5 separate regions of the Homo sapiens genome follow, and regions 1, 2, 3 and 5 are each linked to region 4. Evidence: promoter capture Hi-C in 16 types of primary human blood cells and fetal thymus (Javierre and others, 2016). All regions are on one chromosome and are shown on one strand. Each heading gives the region's core, a stretch centred on a gene start or on the middle of the fragment in contact. The rest is flanking DNA. Distances are from core to core; before and after follow the strand shown.

Evidence for each region. The method cuts DNA at HindIII sites, captures the fragments that hold promoters and counts their contacts. A CHiCAGO score of 5 or more calls a contact.
Region 1: a fragment that was not itself captured here is called in contact with the fragment with the promoter of PLA2G4F in region 4 in 1 of 17 cell types (endothelial precursors); the score reaches 5.2 in endothelial precursors.
Region 2: a contact is called between a fragment that was not itself captured here and the fragment with the promoter of PLA2G4F in region 4, in 2 of 17 cell types (endothelial precursors and megakaryocytes). The highest score is 5.9, in endothelial precursors.
Region 3: a contact is called between a fragment that was not itself captured here and the fragment with the promoter of PLA2G4F in region 4, in 1 of 17 cell types (endothelial precursors). The highest score is 5.8, in endothelial precursors.
Region 5: a fragment that was not itself captured here is called in contact with the fragment with the promoter of PLA2G4F in region 4 in 2 of 17 cell types (megakaryocytes and endothelial precursors); the score reaches 6.3 in megakaryocytes.

What each region holds. Positions count from the first base shown.
Region 1 is chr15:42,413,938-42,416,721 of GRCh38, forward strand. ZNF106 (zinc finger protein 106) reads right to left here. Exons shown (of 22, transcript NM_001366845.3): 22 at 1-2,784. Among named protein-coding and RNA genes, the nearest start is that of CAPN3, 56 kb to the left of the region's middle. The HindIII fragment of the contact is 759 bases long and covers 987-1,745 here.
Region 2 is chr15:42,472,784-42,475,491 of GRCh38, forward strand. The region is part of intron 1 of ZNF106 (zinc finger protein 106); the gene reads right to left. Among named protein-coding and RNA genes, the nearest start is that of ZNF106, 17 kb to the right of the region's middle. The HindIII fragment of the contact is 4,164 bases long and covers 1-2,708 here.
Region 3 is chr15:42,435,690-42,438,434 of GRCh38, forward strand. It overlaps ZNF106 (zinc finger protein 106), which reads right to left. Exons shown (of 22, transcript NM_001366845.3): 13 at 1,543-1,688. Among named protein-coding and RNA genes, the nearest start is that of ZNF106, 54 kb to the right of the region's middle. The HindIII fragment of the contact is 746 bases long and covers 895-1,640 here.
Region 4 is chr15:42,155,371-42,158,070 of GRCh38, forward strand. It overlaps PLA2G4F (phospholipase A2 group IVF), which reads right to left and starts at 1,266. Exons shown (of 20, transcript NM_213600.4): 1 at 1,069-1,266; 2 at 147-219. The coding sequence starts at 1,179. RefSeq lists an enhancer at 991-1,706. The HindIII fragment of the contact is 5,494 bases long and covers 1-2,700 here.
Region 5 is chr15:42,453,457-42,456,268 of GRCh38, forward strand. All of the region lies in intron 4 of ZNF106 (zinc finger protein 106), which reads right to left. Among named protein-coding and RNA genes, the nearest start is that of ZNF106, 36 kb to the right of the region's middle. The HindIII fragment of the contact is 2,903 bases long and covers 1-2,812 here.

The DNA.
Region 1 (2,784 bases), core at 116-2,615, 260 kb after region 4:
CAGAAAACTTGAAGTGACTGATACTTTATCACAACGAACTGCCATTTAAACACTAGCATAGGTACACAAAAAGATTTATACTATGGTTTTCTTGGCTTTAAGCCATTAGAATTAGACAAAAGCAACCGAGAGTAACATTCTAAAAGTGGCTTCAACTACTTTAAAGACATGAGTCAGTTTTTGTCAGGTCATTTAATGGTTTCTTTCCTTCACAAAGCCACTAAATGCCAGAGTCAACACAGATCCCTGAGCCATAGCTCTTCTCTGAGGGGAAACAGGGTTATAATCAGTCACAACATTGTGGAAGACATTAAAAAAAGAAGGCAAAGTTCTGTATAATTTTCAAGACTCTTGTAAGTAGTAACACACAGCCATAAGCAGCCAAAATGCTTATGGTCCCTTTATTTCTTAATAGAGGGCTAGAACCGTTCATTTGGGGTAACACACTAATCTGGTGTTAAAAGAATTTCATGTGTTCTTGAAACAAAGGCATACTGCCACTGCTTCAAAAAAAGCCTTTGTGAAATGAAGAAAAATATGACAAACACAGGTTCCCACACGTACACATACATACAAAGGAACCTGCACACTTGCACACACACAGGCAGGTATAGGCACACAGTTCCACCAAAGCGAAGTCCAAATCAGAGTTCTTACCGATTCTACCACTCTGTAATACTCTCAGAAGTTCCCACAACTGCCCAACACCTCACCTACCCGTTTCCTGCTGCACAAAGTCTCCTTCACTCTCATCTTTTCGATACATCGTCAGGCAGGGCAGAAGGGCACTACGCCGCAGAGCATTCGAGGCTCTCAGCACACTGCCAGCCAGCGTGAAAATGCGGCTTCACTACAGCCCAGAGAAAAGGGCCAGGTTTAGTCATCGATCCAGATGCATTTTCCCGGGAAATGACCATTCCCAAACCCACAGAACAGTTTGGCTTCTCTGGATATCCTTATAGGAAATAGGGGTGAGAGGTGGGAAAAGCTTCTCAATCTCATACAGAAACAGCACAAATATTTAATACACCTTTTGCAACAAGATCTTCTCTGTTCTCCATTAAGCATCATGTAAATCTCACTAGTGTGGTTAACAAAATGGCTTTCCCCAAGGACAGAAGTCAAGAGCTTGTGGGGCCATATATTATCTAGTACTAGGCCATTCATTATCTCCTAGATTAACTCTTTTTTTTTTTTTTTTGAGGTGGAGTTTCACTCTTGTCGCCCAGGCTGGAGTGCAGTAGTATGATCTTGGCTCACTGCAACTTCTACCTCCAGGGTTCAAGTGATTCTCCTGTCTCAGCCTCCTGAGTAGCTGAGACTACAGGCACATACCACCACACCCAGCTAATTTTTGTATTTTTAATAGAGACGGGGTTTCACTATGTTGGCCAGGCTGGTCTCAAATGCCTGACCTTGAGTGATCCACCCGCCTCGGCCTCCCAAAGAGCTGGGATTACAGGTGTGAGCCACCAGGCCCGGCCTCCTAGATTAATTCTTGACATTTTTTGGATCAAGTAAGAACCACTGGAGCCTTTCCTGGAAAAAAGAACACATACTCAGTCTCACACACAATTTCTGGGGGCTCACAGACCCTCTTGAAGCCTATCCATAAACCCCCTGGTGAAGTCCCCCTGCCCGATAGCCTGAGGGAAGACATGTGAGTGGATATATGTGCACTAACAGGGGCGAAGACAGACCTGGATGGTCTGCAATCCCAGAGAGCATGAGGCACCATGTCCCAAAGCTTGGTATGTGGCCCTGGGCTCCTCCCCCAATTTTATCTCTCTGAAGAAGCTGAGTTTTTTTTTTTTTTTTTGAGACGGAGTCTCACTCTGTCACCAGGCTGGAGTGCAGTGGCACGATCTCAGCTTACTGCAATCTCTGCCTCCCGGGTTCAAGCGATTCTCCTGCCTCAGCCTCCTGAGCAGCTGGGATTACAGGCGCCCACCACGCCCGGCTTTTTGTATTTTTAGTAGAGACGGGGTTTTGCCATGTTGGCCAGGCTGGTCTGCAACTCCTAGCCTCAGGTGATCTGCCTGCCTCAGCCTCCCAAAGTGCTGGGATTACAGGCGTGAGCCACCACGCCCGGCCACGTTCTGAGTTTTGAGGATCCAGAAACAAAAGGCTGGAAAGCGACACTTCTACAGGTTTACTGATGAGTCCGGAGAAAATCCAAAAACAAAGCCCCACTGAGGGTTTGTGAATTTGGCTGTTCTCAGTGGCCAGGCAGAGTCTCTGCTCCACTCTTCTTTCCCAGCTAGCAGGGAAGTGAAGGCAAAGAACTGTCTCAGAAACAAGTCTCTAGGAAGTCTGCTTGAGGTCCTGAAAACTGTATTCAGATGCTTTATTCTAACCCCCTCTCCCCCACCATCTTAGTTGCTGCAGGGGGGTGGAAAACACCCCGTGAGCCCAGAGGAATATTCGATGGCTGCCATCGGTCTAGGCACGGCCATACAGTGGGAGAGATGGAGGCTGGCAACTGAACAAACCAAAAGGGTTCAAACCAACATTAGGCTTGCAGGGTCAGACACTAGAAAGGAAGATAAAGGTACACCTCCAGTTCAACAGCCTGACAGGATCTGTAACAGGTAGTGCCCAGGTTCAACAGCAGATGTAAAGGTAGACGTTAGGTCTACGCACTGCCTCACACTGAGCTTTCTATCCACATTTACAGAGATTTACTAGAAGTGGTGTCTGTAAGGACTTGTCACTATGTGATTTGCTTCCTGAATTCCTAAAAGATAGTCAGCAGAGCAGCCACTGTTTGTCAAAAATCTACTG
Region 2 (2,708 bases), core at 175-2,674, 320 kb after region 4:
GGCAGATCACGAGGTCAGGAGTTAGAGACCAGCCTGGCCAACATGGTGAAACCCCGTCTCTACTCAAAATACATAAATTAGCTGGGTGTGGTGGCAGGTGCCTGTAATACCAGCTACTCAGGAGGCTAAGGCAGAATTGCTTGAACCCAAGAGCGGAGGTTGCAGTGAGCTGAGATTGCACCACGGCACTCCAGCCTGGGCGACAGAGCAAGACTCCAACTTTGAAAAAAAAAAAAAAAACAAGTTTAAGTTAGAACATATACAGGTTGAAAATTCCAAATCTAAAAATCTGAAATCTGAAATCTGAAATGATCCAAAACCGGAAACTTTTTGGGTGTCAACATGATGCTCAAAGGAAATGCCCGCTGGAGCAGTTTAGATTTGGAATGTTCCGATTTGGGATGTTCAGCCAGTAAGTACGCAAATATTCCAAGATCCGAAAAAATCTGAACTCCACAACACTTTTGGTCCCAAGCATTTCGGATAAAGGAACTCAACCTGTATGTAATTCCTCTGCTCAGAATTTCCCAATGGCGTCCATCTCACTCACAGAAAACCTAGTCTTTGCCATGGCTACAATATCTGTTTCTCTCTTCCTCTCCGAATCATTCGCATGCCCTCCCGTTCTTCCTCTATCATTCTGGTGCACTTGCATTCCCCTCGTTGCTATTCTTTGTTCACATCACAGATCCTCCCACCTTTGCACCTCTACATTTTCTGTTCTCTGCCTGGAATATTCTTCCTTAAAAAGTCCTTATGGTTCCCGTGGCTCATTCATTTCCATCAGGTATCTAAAATATTGCCTTATGGGAGAGGCCCTGCCTAACCCTCTACATAATATTGCACTTTCTGACACCCCACCTCTCCACATAGTTCCAGTTTCTCTATTCCCCTATTAACCTGCTTAATTTTTTATAGCACTGTGGTAGATCATGTTTCCATAGAAGGCCTCAACAATATCTGCTACCCCATGTGCTCTTTTGCAATGTGATCTTGCCACCATCCATGAAAAGGTGGATGGAGTCTGTTTCCCCTCCCTGTGAACTATTTTGATCAATAAAATGTGGCAGAAGTGATGCTGTATAACTTAAGAGGCTGGGCTTTCAGAAATCTGTACCTTCTGCCTCTGCCCACTTGTTACACTCCCTCTTGAAAGCCAGCCACCGTGCTGTGAGAAGCCAAAGCCACAGGGAAAGGCCAGGTAAAAAAAGAACTGAGGCCCCCACTGAGTACCCAAACAACAAGCAGGACCAACTGACAGCCAGAAGCGTGAGCCATCTTGGGGGCTCCAGGTCCAGCCACCAATGAGAGACCCCCAAGTGAGACCAATACATACACCATCCAGATAAGCCCTCTTCAACCCAGAGAATTGTGAGACACAATACAAGAGTTGTTTTAAGCCAGGAAATTTTGGAATAGTTTATGAACAAGTGACATCTGGAACATTATCTTTTACTACCTGACATAGTATGTATTTGTTATTCTCTGTCTCTGCCAATTAAAATTTAAATTCCGTGAGAAAAAGGACTTTGCATATTTTGTTCACTAGTATAGTTCGGTCTAGCACTTAGAACAGTGTATGACATATCATAAGGAATTCAAAAGTATTTGTTGATTATTCCAAATGGAACTATCCATCTTGGGTTACTAAATGTGAGTTTAGTAACTGAGCTGAGTAAATAGCAGGGTTTGAGGCCAGGCACAGTGGCTCACAGCTGTAATCACAGCACCTTGGGAGGCTGAGGTGATAGGATCACTTGAGGACAGGAGTTCAACACCAGTCTGGGCAACATAGTGTCTCTACAAAAAATGAAAGAATTAGCTGGGTACTATGGCTCATGCCTGTAATCCCAGCTACTTGGGAGGCACAGCAAGGAGGATTCCTTGAGCCCAGGAGTTTGAGGTTATAATGAGCTATGATTGTGCCACTGTACTTCCACCCTGGGTAAGAGTAAGGCTCTCTATAAAAAGAAAGAAAGAAAGAAAGAAAATACCAGGGGTTTAGATTAAGACTCAACAATGGTTTACTCTTTCATAATCCTCTGGCACTAGCACACTTTCCTCAAGTCCCTGCTAGAGATGCTCTATATGAAATTTTAAATCTACTCCCCAAGCAGCATTGTTCCTTCTTCTACAGAAAACATCAGGCTCTAATAGATCTGCTTCCTCATTTGGGGTACATTCCTTAGGAGATTTTAAAACTGTGACATAATGAGGTTACAAACTACCACAGTTTAATCTGTAACTCCTAGATAATATGGCAGAAGGACCAATGAAAGAGGCCTAAGGTTCTCCACTCCTGTGATTACTCGGCAGTTTTCTTGCCATGCAACCCACTTCATAATATTACTGAATGCCTAAATAATTTTATTCAATAATAAAGTTCAGGCCAGGCATGGTGGCTCATGCCTATAATCCCAGCACTTTGGGAGGCCGAGGTGGGTGGATAACTTGAGGTCAGGAGTTCAAGACCAGCCTGGCCAACATGTCTCTATTAAAAATACAAAAATTAGCTGGGTATGGTGGCACGTGCCTGTAATCCCAGCTACTCGGGAGGCTGAGGCAGGAGAATCGCTTGAACCCAGGAGGCAGAGGTTGCAGTGAGCCGAGATGACGCCCCTGCACTCTAGCCTGGGCGACACAGCGAGACTCTGTCTCAAAAAATAAAAATAAAAAATAAAATTCAAAACACTAAAGTAAGATTATCG
Region 3 (2,745 bases), core at 18-2,517, 280 kb after region 4:
AGCAAACAGTCACAGGCAATGAGGTATCTGAAAGTATATGTTAGTTGAGCCATACCAGAAAATACTTATGGCAACACTGTAAGACAGCCAGAATTTTAATTAACGTTTAGGGCAAAGCTTTCTGACATATGGACCAAGGACCTAGCAAATCCAAACTGCAGCTAATTTCCCACAAAAGATGAGCATTTGATAAGCAGTTTGTGAGAATGCACCATGGTATTCAAAAACGTCAGGTGCTATCACAGGTCTAGTGGTTCTGGTGTTGTTTCTTTTTTTTTTTTTTTGACAGAGTCTCGCTCTGTCCCCCAGGCTGGAGTGCAGTGGCGCGATCTCAGCTCACTGCAAGCTCTGCCTCCTGGGTTCACACCATTCTCCTGCCTCAGCCTCCCAAGTAGCTGGGACTACAGGTGCCCGCCACCACCCCCGGCTAATTTTTTGTATTTTTAGTAGAGATGGGGTTTCACCATGTTAGCCAGGATGGTCTCAATCTCCTGACCTCATGATCCACCCACCTTGGCCTCCCAAACTGCTGGGATTATAGGTGTGAGCCACTGTGCCCGGCCACTGGTGGTGTTTCTTATGGGTACATTCCAAATGTTATCTCAGTGCACATACTGAGATCTATTTAGAATGTACATATATACATACACATACATATTTTGATATCCTGTTCCCCTAGATCTTACACTTATACATCCTGGTAGCACTGCTTCCTTTTTTCAGTCATTCGTGTTAATCCTCATATCATTAAGCTAAAGGAATCTACACACCTGTTGCCTATATAGCAAACACATTTTCCTGGTCCATCATCTAACTTTTTAATTTTCACTGACTCTAGCAATTTTAAATATTTTCATGGTATTCATTCAGACATCATGTTCTTCAAATTTCTTAAGCTTTCATTGTTCATAAACATAATTAGTTTATTAACAAATTCAAATTCAAAACTCAAAAGTTCATTCTTTTGAGAGTAATAAGCATCAGATAATACTAAGTGTGAGGCAGTGGAAAAGTGTTGCTCTCCTTAATAACTTGAACTCTGTAATCAATCACTTGTCAGGGAAAATACCTCCTCCAGTACTTCCCCATATTCACTTCATCCCTCCTCTATTATGTAGCTGCTATGCAAGTGACCCCATTACCAACTCCAGCATTGGGACCTGAACAGTCCAAGACCACTGGTGTAATCCCAACCCCCTTTGCCACAGGCAAAGGTGATCGTTCAGGGAGTAAAACACAGGACCCTTCTGTGCTGGTGGGAGGGAAAAAGAGACTCCAGTGGCTCCTGACATTTACCCTGTAAGCAGGAGGGGAACTAGCTTTCAGGAAGAGGTGATACCAGAGAAGGCAGAGTAGGGAGACAAAAAGAAATTAAGTCCCCAGTGACCTTGCTGAGCTTCTGGATTAAATGCATCTAAAGTCAATCTCAGGCCCACCCCTTCCTTCAGACAGCCAACAAATTCCCTTTATTGTTTAAAAAAGTATAAACTGGATTTTCCAAAACCTGCAACCAAAAACATTCTACATGTTCTATCAACTTACCACCAGATTATAAACCCGAACAGTTTTATCTGCTGAACAGGTATATAGCAAGTTCCCAAATATCTGAATTGCATTTACGGCAGCTTGGTGTCCCTCAAAGCTTCCTTCTGTGGGTTCATCATCATCTCCTGGCTCTGAAGATATTTCTGGAAAACAAGAATAGGTTTCAGAGACATGTCTGCTAGAGTCTGAAAAGATACTCAAAAATCAGAACTATTATACAATACAGTAGTCCCTAGATTAAACCAAAAGTAGATCCCTTAAATCTTAGTTCCCCTATCAGACTACTACAATTTTCAATACCCATCTTCACTATGAAGACTGCATGATAAGCAAAGGCAGAGAAGGCCTTTCACTTAGGAAAAAGATAGATAATTATATAATGAGCTTTTGGGCCAGGCGTGGTGACTCACACCTGTAATCCCAGCACTTTGGGAGGCCAAAATGGACGGATCACCTGAGGTCAGGAGTTGGAGACCAGCCTAGCCAACATGGTGAAACCCCATCTCTACTAAAAATACAAACATTAGCCAGGTGTGGTAGCGTGAGCCTGTAGTCCCAGTTATTTGGGGAGGCTGAGGCAAGAGAATCACTTGAACCCAGAGGCAGAGGTTGCAGTGAGCCAAGATCACACCACTGGACTCCAGCCTGGGCGACAACGACTCCGTCTCAAAAAAAAAAAAAAAAAGAAAAAGAGCTTTGAGTGATACTTGGAAGGTATCCAATCTCTCCCACACTTCCAAAAAGTTATTTCTTTGAGTAATGTAGTATTCCTTAAGCAGTTCCTTCTGAAAGCAAATATCCTTAGAGCCAATGAAACCTTAATACTAATTAGTTGAACAGATAAGGGAGCCGGATAAGACAGATGAGAAAGGCCAGGCATGGTGGCTCACGCCTGTAGTCCCAGCACTTTGGGAGGACAAGGCAGGAGGATCACTTGAGGCCAGGAGTTCGAGACCAGCCTGGCCAACATGACGAAACCCTGTCTCTACTAAAAATACAAAAAAAAATTTGCCAGGCGTGATGGCGCGCACCTGTGGTCCCAGCTATTTGGGAGGCTGAGGCAGGAGAACTGCTTGAACCTGGGAGGTGGAAGTTGCAGTGAGTAGAGATAGCGCCACTGCACTCCAGCCCAGGTGACAGAGCAAGACTCTGTTACAACCAGTCAATCAATCAGATAGATGAGAATAAGAATCTGAAAGA
Region 4 (2,700 bases), core at 16-2,515:
CACACATGTATACACACATGCACTCTCACTTGTACTCACCCATGTATACTCTTACACACACACACTCTCTGTTAGCCAGCCTGAGCTGAGCTCTGAGGAAGCCGCAGGGAAAGGACAGAGAGAAGGATGGAGATGGGGTCACTCACGCAGGTCTGTGCCCCGGATGTTTGTGGCCCTCAGCACCTTCACCTGGAGGTCATAGTATGGGTAGGTTTCCCGCTGCAATAACAGAACTCCAGGGACTCAGTCAGCTAGTGTGAGCCTGGTCCCTCGCCCCATTGTTCCCCTCGTCCCATCATGGAGCAGCAACCTGGCATAGGGTCACTGACGTCTCTGTGCCGGGGAGCAGGGAGACCTTGGCGGGTCCCAGGCATTGGGAGTTCAGCACCTTCGTGATGTGTCTGGACCCTGGAACCCATCCGGTCTGGGTTCAAATCTAAATCCAGCACGGACTCACTGAACTAACGATGGCTGTCACGCACCACACACCTGCAGCTCCCCTCAGACGCTCGCGCCCCCACTCTAGCTTGGGAGCAGCTGTGAGAGCTGTGCTAATGTTGTGCTTGAGAAGATTAAATATTAAAAGAGAAAACTGTGACACCCCCTCCCTTGCTTGCTCCCTGACAGAGGCTCAAAGACCGTCTAGGAGGCAGCGAGCAGGTGAGCGGAAGCCGAGAGTCACCGGCCGGCCGGTACCGGTCTGACGAGTCACCGAGCAGATTGCAGCTGGGCTTAGGAGAGATAACATCAGCATGCTGCCTACTGGGAGGGAAACTCTCCCCTCACAACCCCACCAGCTCCGTGGACTCTACAGCCAGGCTCGCGCATCCTTGGTGAAAGCCAACCCACCCCAGACAAGTGTCAAGTGAACTAACCCTCCATTTCCTAATCGGAGGGAGCTATTTTTAAGAGCCAAGGTCTAATTTAAGCTCTGCCAGGTCATCTAGAATAAACAGGTCCCACCCCAACTCAAAACCCAGGGCTGGGGCTGGTCTCAGTCTTCACAGGGCACTGCAGCTCCCAGGACTCCCCCAGTCCGGGTTTCCCAGGTAATCTCAGGTACGTTACCCGCCAGTGCCTCCACAGAGGGCCCCTCTTCTCTCTCTTCTGAAGCAGCACTGCCCCCAGGAGGGGCAGCATCTTGTCTGCCAGCCACCTTGGCCAGAGTGCCCAAAGCATGGCTGGGCAGCCCGGGCCCCAGCAGGGAACCCTGCCTGCGCTCCTCTGGTTGCACAAACTGCTGGCTCAGGTGTGACAGGCAGCACTGAGTTGGGAGGGTGGAGCTGCCTGCTCTGCAGAGAACTCAGGCTGGATGGCCTGCTGGAGGTGGAGTTTGACATGCTCCAGGAAGTGACTGGAGCTTAATTTCCCCAGGCAGGAGGCAGCTCAGTCCCTCTCCAAGAGACTCTTGGGGTCTCTGGTTAGCACTCTTGTTCCCAAACCCAGCGCCCTGGTTATCACTGGGCTGTTTGTGAAAAATAGACACCGGAGCTATTTCCAACAAGACCTCTAGGTGAAGCTGGCACAGCTGGCCCAGAGACCAGCTGGCAAGTGCAAATCAGGGAAGAGTCTCCTCCAGCTGTGGAAAAGGCCTGAAACTAGCCACCCTTCAAGTCCCACCTTCCCTGCGGCTCTTAAGCTGAAGCCTAGAAATCTCTGCTTCAGTGTTTCATCTGGGATCAAAGATGTTTCTCTCTTTATATATATTTTCTAATTATACTTTAAGTTCTACGGTACATGTGCACAACGTGCAGGTTTGTTACATGTGTATACATGTGCCATATTGGTGTGCTGCACCCATTAACTCGTCATTTACATTAGGTATTTCTCCTAATGCTATCCCTCCCCCATGCCCCCTGCCCCCCGACATGCCCCGGTGTGTGATGTTCCCCGCCCTGTGTCTAAGTGTTCTCATTGTTCAATTCCCACCTATGAGTGAGAACATGTGGTGTTTGGTTTTCTGTCCTTGCGATAGTTTGCTCAGAATGATGGTTTCCAGCTTCATCCATGTCCCTACAAAGGACATGAACTCATCAAAGATGTTTTTAATCTCTCCTGACCACCCTCATTAATTCGCCAAACACCAAGAGCCTGGTGGGTGCCAGACCTGTGCTAGGCCCAGAAACGCAAAGGTGACAGAGGTGAGGCGGGCCCATCCACATCCTGGAGAAATTCAGTCTCATGACTCCCTGTGGCTTTGGCCCAGGCTCGCTTCCTGGGTCAGTGTACAGTGTCCAGGTACAGACAGGCATATGGGCAGGGGGTTATAAATAAGGACAGGCCAAACAACAAGTCTACGTATCCTTCAGCGACCAGATATACAGGCTTTAGCATTCTCTTTGGCCATCGTAGGCCTTAGGCTGCAGATGGATGTGATGTTCGCTCTTCTGTGGACCACAACCATCAAGGTGGCTGAGACAGGCACAGTCTCCAGGAAGAGTGAGGATCTCGGGGGCCGTGAACTGTGGGAGGGAGAGAATTTCTGTCCCTCAACTAAGATTCAGTCATCTCCACTCTTCCCAAGGCCTAGAGTCACAGGCTGAAAAATACAACATCCAAAAAAGATGTGATTCAACTCCAAAATGAACCGAATGGGCAAGTTCAGACCAGAAACTCCCCCCAAAAAAGGAATGTGTGACTGCCAGTGACCAGGCCCCAAAGAAGGGCCTGTTTCTGCTTTATTTGGATTGTGAAGCCAAG
Region 5 (2,812 bases), core at 129-2,628, 300 kb after region 4:
ATGGTGCTTAGCATGTGGTAAGTGCTCAAAATACTGAGTACTGCTAGCTAAAATTTACTGAGTACCTGAGTGTCAGGCATTTAATGCTAAGCACCTTATATAGATTATCTCACTTAGTTTTTATAATCCTGAGGCAAGTATTTTTTTTTTTTTTTTGGAGATGGAGTCTCGCTTTGTCGCCCAGGCTGGAGTGCAATGGCACGATCTTGGCTCACTGCAACCTCTGCCTCTCGAGTTCAAGCGATTCTCCTGCCTCAGCCTCCTGAGTAGCTGGGATTACAGGCTCCCGCCACCACGCCTGGCTAATTTTTGTATTTTTAGTAGAGACGGGGTTCCACCATGTTGGCCAGGCTGGTCTTGAACTCCTGACCTCGTGATCCGCCCACCTCAGCCTCCCAAAGTGCTGGGATTACAGGCATGGCATGTATTCTTATTATTCCTACTTTATAGATGAGAAATTGAGCAGTAGAGAGAATACATAACTTGCCTAGAATAAGATAGCCAGAAAGCAGTAGAGCAGAGATTTAATCCTTGGCAATCTGACTCCAGCCAGAGTCTATACTCTTAACCACAGGCCTTCAGAGAATCAACATCTCAAAACAAAGTTTCCACATTTAAGTTCCTTCCTCTGACCTTGACTTAAAAATCTTAAACTCAATACTGACTTTAATTGGCTTTAAAGGCTTTCAATGTCTATGATATTTTGGACACAAATTGGAACTTCTTCCTTTTTCACAAGACGGAATTTAAAAGTCTATTTAGAAGTTCAAACATCCACTCATATTATATAAATTACAATCATTTCTAAACAGGAGACTCTTTAGAAAGTAACAAGTATTATTACATGCAGTAGCAGAATTTTTTTATAACCATTAACCAAATTGCCTTTATCTTTTGATTCTATGCAATATGCAACTTCTGGCATCCAAGGAGACCACTGACTCAGCTATACTGATATGATCAGAAATGGGAGAACTGGGGGATAAATAAATCACAAAGTAGAATTCCTAGATCATCATGAATTGGCTAGATTCAGAAGATAGGAGCATTCAGCTAAACCCATAGACCAGAAAGAATAATCTAAGTTAAAAATTCATGAAGGAAAAAAGAAAAAAAAAAATACTCCTGAAGAAGTAGATGATTTTGTCCAGGTGTGGTGGCTCATGCCTGTAATCTCAGCACTTTGGGAGGCCAAGGTGGGTGGATCACTTGAGCCCAGAAGTTCGAGGCCAGCCTGGGTGACATGGCTAAACCCCATCTCTACCAAAAATAAAAATAAAAAAAAAAAAATTAGCCACGCATGGTGGCGATGCATGCCTGTAGTTCCAGCTTCTCGGGAGGTTGAGGTGGGAGGACTGTTGGAGCCTAGGAAGTTGAGGCTGCAGTGAGGTGTCATCGTGCCACTGCACTCAAGCCTGGGTGACAGACCGACACCCTGTCTCAAAAAAAAAAAAGAAGTAGATGATTTTATAAATAGGTCATCAAGGAGGCACATCAAAAGACTCAAAAAATAGTAACTATGATACAAATGTCTAATCTATTCTGACTTAATGTTTAATTATTTACACAGATAAAGCTAATAATGGCACTAGTATGTAAGAACAAAATAGAAGTCTCCCAGAGGCTCCAACTGCCTAAAGCAGGATAAAGTAAACTGCAACTATATTAAAAGTAATGAAAATGTCATTTGAAGGACTAAGCTACTAAATGATTTAAGAACCATGTGGTTTGAGTGTCCCGTATCTGAAATGCTTGGGACCAGAAAGGTTTTGCATTTCAAACTGCTTTGGATTTTGGAATATTTTTGCATATACATAATGGGATATTACGGGAATGGGACCCAAGTCTAAACATAAAATTCATTTATGTTTCATATACACCTTTTATACACAGTCTGATGATAATTTTAGGTAATATTTTGAATAATTTTGTAAAATGAAATGAGGTGTGGAATTTTCCACTGGTGGCCTCATGTTGGCACTCAAATGTTTTGGATTTTGGTGCATTTTCAGACTTTGGATTAGGGATGCTCACCCTTTACTGATATTTTAAGATGAAGAAAGTCTCCTTCAAGGAATTGTTCAAAAAACTTTTTTTTAATTTTAATTTTTTGTTGTTGTTATTACATAGATAAGGGCTTCCTATGTTGCCCAGGCTGGTCTTAAAGCCCTGGCCTCGTCTCCTCATGCACCAGGACAATAGGCCTGAGCCACCGTTCCTCCCGGCAAAAAAACTTTTAACATATAGAGTAAAAACAACTTCCTTTTTATAGTTAAGCCTCTGACTAAAAAGGAGGTACAGACGGGGTATAACTAGTATTCAAAGAAGAATCTTTAAATTTTTATTTTAGAATCTGAAATGATTCTCTTCATGTTCTGGGACTTAAAAAATTATCCCACCTCATAAGTGCTTCTCTCTCTCTTTCCCTCACATTGAAAATTTCTACCTCATTAATTAAACTCTTTTTAACAAATTTTATAATTAAACTCTTTAGACCAGAAAGCAGTAAGGTAAAAACATAAATGCCTAATACCTGAATGTATAAATGTAGGTATGAAATTATGCAGTACAAATTAGAAAATTTATATTGCTTAAATTATCTTGACACTTATCAAAAAAAATTTATTCAAGAAAGCACTGTGGTAGTCACTGGGGATTCAAAGACAAAAAGATAAATCAAATTTGGCAGAAGCAACACGTTAATTCACACCAGTCAAAAAATATTTTCCTAAGAAATGTTATTTGGCAGTAAGACTATACTATATACTATAGACTACACTGTTATTTTGGCGATACGACTATACTATATACT